Regions from separate parts of the Homo sapiens genome. Here region 1 is linked to region 2. The links are contacts of gene promoters, found by promoter capture Hi-C in blood cells and fetal thymus (Javierre and others, 2016). All regions are on one chromosome and are shown on one strand. Each heading gives the region's core, a stretch centred on a gene start or on the middle of the fragment in contact. The rest is flanking DNA. Distances are from core to core; before and after follow the strand shown.

The links. Contacts are between HindIII fragments. The CHiCAGO score rates a contact against its expected background, and 5 or more counts as called.
Region 1: a contact is called between a fragment that was not itself captured here and the fragment with the promoter of BTBD8 in region 2, in 3 of 17 cell types (endothelial precursors, M2 macrophages and M1 macrophages). The highest score is 5.9, in endothelial precursors.

What each region holds. Positions count from the first base shown.
Region 1 is chr1:92,265,569-92,268,407 of GRCh38, forward strand. GLMN (glomulin, FKBP associated protein) reads right to left here. Exons shown (of 19, transcript NM_053274.3): 10 at 2,537-2,567; 11 at 2,345-2,434; 12 at 1,132-1,173; 13 at 851-924. Among named protein-coding and RNA genes, the nearest start is that of GLMN, 32 kb to the right of the region's middle. The HindIII fragment of the contact is 741 bases long and covers 965-1,705 here.
Region 2 is chr1:92,078,998-92,081,945 of GRCh38, forward strand. BTBD8 (BTB domain containing 8) reads left to right here and starts at 1,348. Exons shown (of 18, transcript NM_001376131.1): 1 at 1,348-1,723. The coding sequence starts at 1,575. RefSeq lists an enhancer at 2,621-2,948. The HindIII fragment of the contact is 1,063 bases long and covers 899-1,961 here.

The DNA of each region.
Region 1 (2,839 bases), core at 85-2,584, 190 kb after region 2:
AGTTTGAGACCAGCCTGGGCAACATGGCAAAACCCCATCTCCACAAAAAAATTAGCTGGGCATGATGGCATGCACCTGTAGTCCCAGCTACCTGGGAGGCTGAAGCGGGAGGATCACCTGAAGCTGGGGGGCCAAGGGTGAAGGCTGCAGTGAGCCATGATCACACTGCTGCACCCGCCAAAAAAGAACAGTACTAATATTGGCCAATCCCAGGTAAGACATTTTAGCAAATCCAGCCTGATGCCCAATTTTATCAATAAAGTTTTACTGGAACACACCCATCCCCAATACAAAGTCAAAGTTGAGCACTTGCAACAGAGACTGTATAGCCCATAAAACCTATATTTACTATTTGGCTCTTCACAGAAAATTAATTAGAAAGTTTACCAATCTTTAACTTAGAGAGTTGCTAGAATCTTATCCACCTCAAAGAGCAGTATTAGTAAGCTCTTACTATTAACATAGTGCATAGCCTATCAAAGTTGTAATTCCAGAGCCATCAATTTGAACTGTGAGTAATGGAGATTAGTGACATACATAAAGTTCCAGCAGGAGCATCATCAATCTCAGTTTAATTATTTTTAAGTCTATTTCAAATTTAGAGTATTCCAATTGATTGAACTGCAATATATACTATTAGTCATACAAAATATAGACATATATATAGTATGTCTGAAATATTTGATTAACCCTTTCTCTAGCCATCACTGAGAATTTATAATATGGGTTCCAACCAGAGTTGAATTACATGTAAAACATACCGACATACTATGCCCTAAAACAATTACATGGCATTAACATGACTTTTAATCAACCACACACTTAGCAATTAGCCATGCTTGATACATACCTAAATAATGTATATTTGCCTTGTGAATCCAACTTGTTAATATACAGCTGAAGCATAGCTAAACTCTTTTTCCTCTAAAATGGAACAAACAATATTATTATATAAAATGAATAAAGCTTACCCAGACTTCATCACTATCCATTTTATGCATGTAATACATCCACACTTGTACCTCCTAAATAAAAATTTCACAAATTAAAATTTTTAAAAAGAAAATTAAATTATTTGTCAAATTTTCTCACTGTAACTCATTATTCTTTAGTCACCAAATATTTACATACCAGTGTCTCAATGGGGCAAAGTGTCATTACTTTCACTAAGCCCTGGAAATAAAAAAATGTAAAATTCAGATGTAAACAGATTATACTGACTGCAAACAAACAACTATAATACATCAATAGGATACTAAAAATTCAGAGAAGTGAGGGTAGGAGATTTAAAAGTGAAGTAAATTAATTTTTCCCTAAGCCTTCCATTCCAGAAAGCTAACTACAATTGATTTTTTAAGTGATATTGAGTAGAGTGTCACACAGTGTACTTTTAAAAGCAAACGATAATTTTCAATTATGTCTACAGTGGCAAGAAAATGAAATCAAATCTACAGAAATATAATTTATTAATTAAAAACAATCAAACAATATGTTAACAAAAACCATGTTTTTCTATTTAAATATTAGGAAAACCAGTTCCCACACTGAAATCTAAGGATTTCCTTGGATATCATAACTAACAAAGAGGATTGGGCAAAATAAACCATAGGAGGGAAAAACACAATGTGTATTAGTCTTTCTGGTAATGAGTCAGTGGATGCCTTAGATGGAGTCCTGAGAACTTGAGTTATGAGAAACATAAAGAAGCTTCATTTTCCAAGATCCCTACAGAAATAAAGTGTTAAAAGAAGAAAGTTATGCTTTTCTACTGGATGCTGTGCTATCAATAATGGTGGCCTCTAATAGCTATTCGTGTTTAAATAAATTAAAATTTAAATTTGAAACTTAGTTCCGGCTGGGTGTGGTGGCTCACACCTGTAATCCCAGCACTTTGGGGGGCTGAGGCAGGCTGATCACGAAGTCAGGAGATCGAGACCATCCTGGCTAACACAGTGAAACTCCGTCTCTACTATAAATACAAAAATATTAGCTGGGTGTGGTGGCGGGCGCCTGTAGTCCCAGCTACTCGGGAGGCTGAGGCAGGAGAATGGAATGAACCCAGGAGGTGGAGCTTGCAGTGAGCTGAGATAGCACCACTGCACTCCAACCTGGGCGACACAGCAAGACTACACCTCAAAAAAAAAAAAAATAGTTCCTTAGTCACATTTCAAGTGTTCAGTTTGGCTAGTGGCTTTCATATTGTCAAAGTTCTACTGGACAGCATTACACCAGAGTTTTCAAAGGTTGCAGAGAAAAGAGTGGGAAAGGAATCAGAAAAGACCTTACTTTAAGTTCAGAACAGGCAAAGGGCTATTTTCAATATTAGAATACATATTTTATTTACCTGAGGTACAGTAAGAAAACTCTTGATTTCTAAGTACTGGTAAAGTAGACTATTGTCTTCTATTCTCAATAAACTATTCTCCAGCAGCTCCTACAGATTAAAATATATGCAGATACATATATAGTGAAGTCAACAGCTGTTATTTGTTGACATAACTATGTATTTAAGTTATAATGGGAACAAACATCTTACCAATCCTTTGGAGATAACAGACTCTTCTGTTCTGAAAAATAATATTAAAATTTATCATGAATTTGTAAACTATTTTAGAATGATACTTCATCTTATGAAAAATACAGCAAAAACTGAAATTTTAACACTTTTAAAATGCATATCATTAAGGAGAAATTCTGTTGAAGAACTTGATCAAAAGTTTTAATCCATCTTTGATCTGTCTTTCGGTTTGGCTAAGGCCACTAAATCTGACCAAAATAAATCTACTCAGGGATTATTTCCTAACTTCAAAACAATAGATCTTCAACAGCAAGTGCTAAG
Region 2 (2,948 bases), core at 98-2,597:
TGGTTGTTGTAAGGATTAACTGAGTTAAAACACACAGAGCAAATAGAGTAGCGTTTATCACATAATAAGGATTCAAATATAAGCTACTATTATGTTATCTTTGACACCCCTCGTTTCTACAGGAATAATTAAGAATCAATTATCCATCCAAGCATTTGGGAATTAATTTTAAAAAATCAATTATCCAGTTATATTTTTCAGAATTAAGATGTCTGAATATTTGAGAGGGGGCATTATCTGAAGAAATGGTTACCTCTTGGCCAATCTTATGGTACAAATACAAAGTCCATATATTCCCCTCCCCGCCTCCTTTTTTTTTTTTTTTGTTTGGTAGAGACAGGGTCTCCTTATGTTGCCCAGGCTGGTCTCTAATTCCTGGGCTCAAGTGATCCTCCCGCCTTGGCTTCCCAAAGTGCTGGGATTACAGGTGTGAGCCACCGCAACCTGGCCAATGTATTTTCCAAGCAATTACTATTCTTCACCTTGTGTGTAGAGTTTGTGAATGAAACAGATTTTTTTTTTTTTTTTTTTTTTTGAGACAGGGTCTTGCTGTGCTGTTCAGGCTGGAGTGCAGTGGTGCAATCATGGCTCACTGCAGCCTCGACCTCCCGGGCTCAAGCCATCATTCCGCCTCGCTTCCCAAGTAGATGGGACTTGCCCGGCCCGAAGCGGAACTACTGAGTTTCCTTATTTTGGAGGCAGTAATCAAATAAAAAATACCAAAACCTTAAATGATAATCAGTTTGCTACTTTATTTGGGACAAAAGAGAATTCTATATTTCATCCATCCATCACTTCACTGCTCAAAGACTTTGCCCCTTACCTATTTCTCCCTTCTTGGTCATAAATGTTAGGGCTTTATATGCAAAGCCCTGTGCTTTCTCCGATCAAGTCCAAAAGCTTGTATGAGCCACTCCTTGGATAAGAAGGGGATGGGGCCTTCTAGATGCTGTAAGTATCTCTTATATTGAACTCAGAATTGTTCTGACTGGCAGTTTATGAAGTTCTTCCCCTACTCCTCCCATCGCCAATTTTTCTTGCCCCAAACATTTATACCTCAGGGTTAAGAAGCCAGGTAAGTGAGGGGGTGTGACTCGCCCAGTCTTTCGTTGGAAAAAAGTGTAGACCTGTCAGGAAGACACAGCATAGAAAGGCTGCATGTGCTGATTTGAACTCGAGCCTCAGTAAAACATTGAAATGAATGAACACCAACCGGAAGGGAAAGAAGAGGGGAGGGGATAAGGAGCCTGAGGATTGGTTTGCCCCGCGGGATGGTCCGCGCCTGAGCCATGGGAGGCGGGGTGCCCGCCGGCAGAAGTAAACAGAGCGAGTACGCCTGCGCACGCTCTTCCTGGGTCAAGAGCCGGCTCGGTTCTGGGATTCTGAGGCTCCCCACCGCGGTCCGGCTTCTCTGGGAGACTGTCTACAAACCGACGAGAGGCGTCAACCTTTTACCCTAGGGGGCGGATTTGGGTAGGAGCCGAGCGTTCGGTCGGAAACGCCCCCTTCTTCCTCCTGGGCGGGGCAAGTGAGGCCAAGTACTGGGCCTCCAGGGCGTCGTACCTCTGTGAGACATGGCTCGCTGTGGGGAAGGCAGTGCGGCCCCCATGGTACTTCTGGGGTCCGCTGGAGTTTGCAGTAAGGGGTTGCAAAGGAAGGGGCCGTGTGAGCGGCGCCGGCTGAAGGCGACGGTGTCGGAGCAGCTCAGCCAGGATTTGCTCAGGTAGGAGGAGGCGGGAACTCTGGCTGCTTCAGTTCCTAAATCGCCCACCTCCGCCCCGAAGCTGAGGCTTCTTTCGGCTCTGCCTCCCCCTCCCTCAGCACTTGGTTCTCCTCGCCTCAGGCGACTGCGGGTCGTTAGCCAGTCTCCCCACTATTCCGAAAAGTGGCTTCGCTCGCCCTGAATAAACAATCCCGAGCACCTCGACACCATGTACCAGATTCAAAAGGAAAACAAAAAAAGCTTAGTCGTGTGCAGCACTAGTTTGCTAGAAATATCTCAACACAGGCACGCTTAGTTGTTTCCAATCACTAAGGTCGGGTGGATCCAGGTCCTGAAACTTACACAATTTTTAAAATAAGCTTATACTATTTTAAGAAAAATAATAAAATTAGGAAAACGATTATTTGAAATGAGGAAAGAACAATACTATAGTCTTGGAGGTCTCTTCTGAGGTCTCTTTAAACAATTTACCAGAAATGCTTCCTGATTGCGACCTGGATTCCTCTCTCCACCTAGAGCTCTCTGTAGCTCCCAGCAACTCTCAGCTCCTGTGAGGACCAAAGCAAATGGAGGGTCTTCCTGACATTTAACCTTTGTAAGCCTCATGGATATCCTTCTCGGGTTATTGGGAATCCAGCTAAAGTAATTTCAGCTTACAAAGAAATTGAAGCTTAGAAATATGACCTAGCTAATTTACATTTCCAGCAAGACATTGATTCTTAAACTTGGGTGGGCATCACTGAAATTTTCCATTTCTAACAAGGCCCCAAGTGATGCTAATGCTGCTGGCTAGGGTGACTATGAGAACCACTGAGGTAAACATAATTACTAATAATTAAAAGTTGTGCAGCATTCTACTTTTTTTTTTTTGGAGACGGAGTCTCGCTCTGTCGCCCAGGCTGGAGCGCCGTGGCGCGATCTCGGCTCACTGCAACCTCCACCTCCCGGGTTCAAGCCATTCTCCTGCCTCAACCTCCCGAGTAGCTGGGATTACAGGCACGCGCCACCACGCCCGGCTAATTTTTGTATTTTTAGTAGAGACGGGATTTCATCATGTTGGCCAGGCTAGTCACGAACTCGTGACCACAAGTGATCCGCCCGCCTCGGCCTCCCAAAATGCTGGGATTACAGGCGTGAGCCACTGCGCCCAGCCAGGATTCTACATTTTGAAGTGCTTTCTGTCAAAAACTCACCCATACTTAAGGCTCCGATAGCTATAAACAGA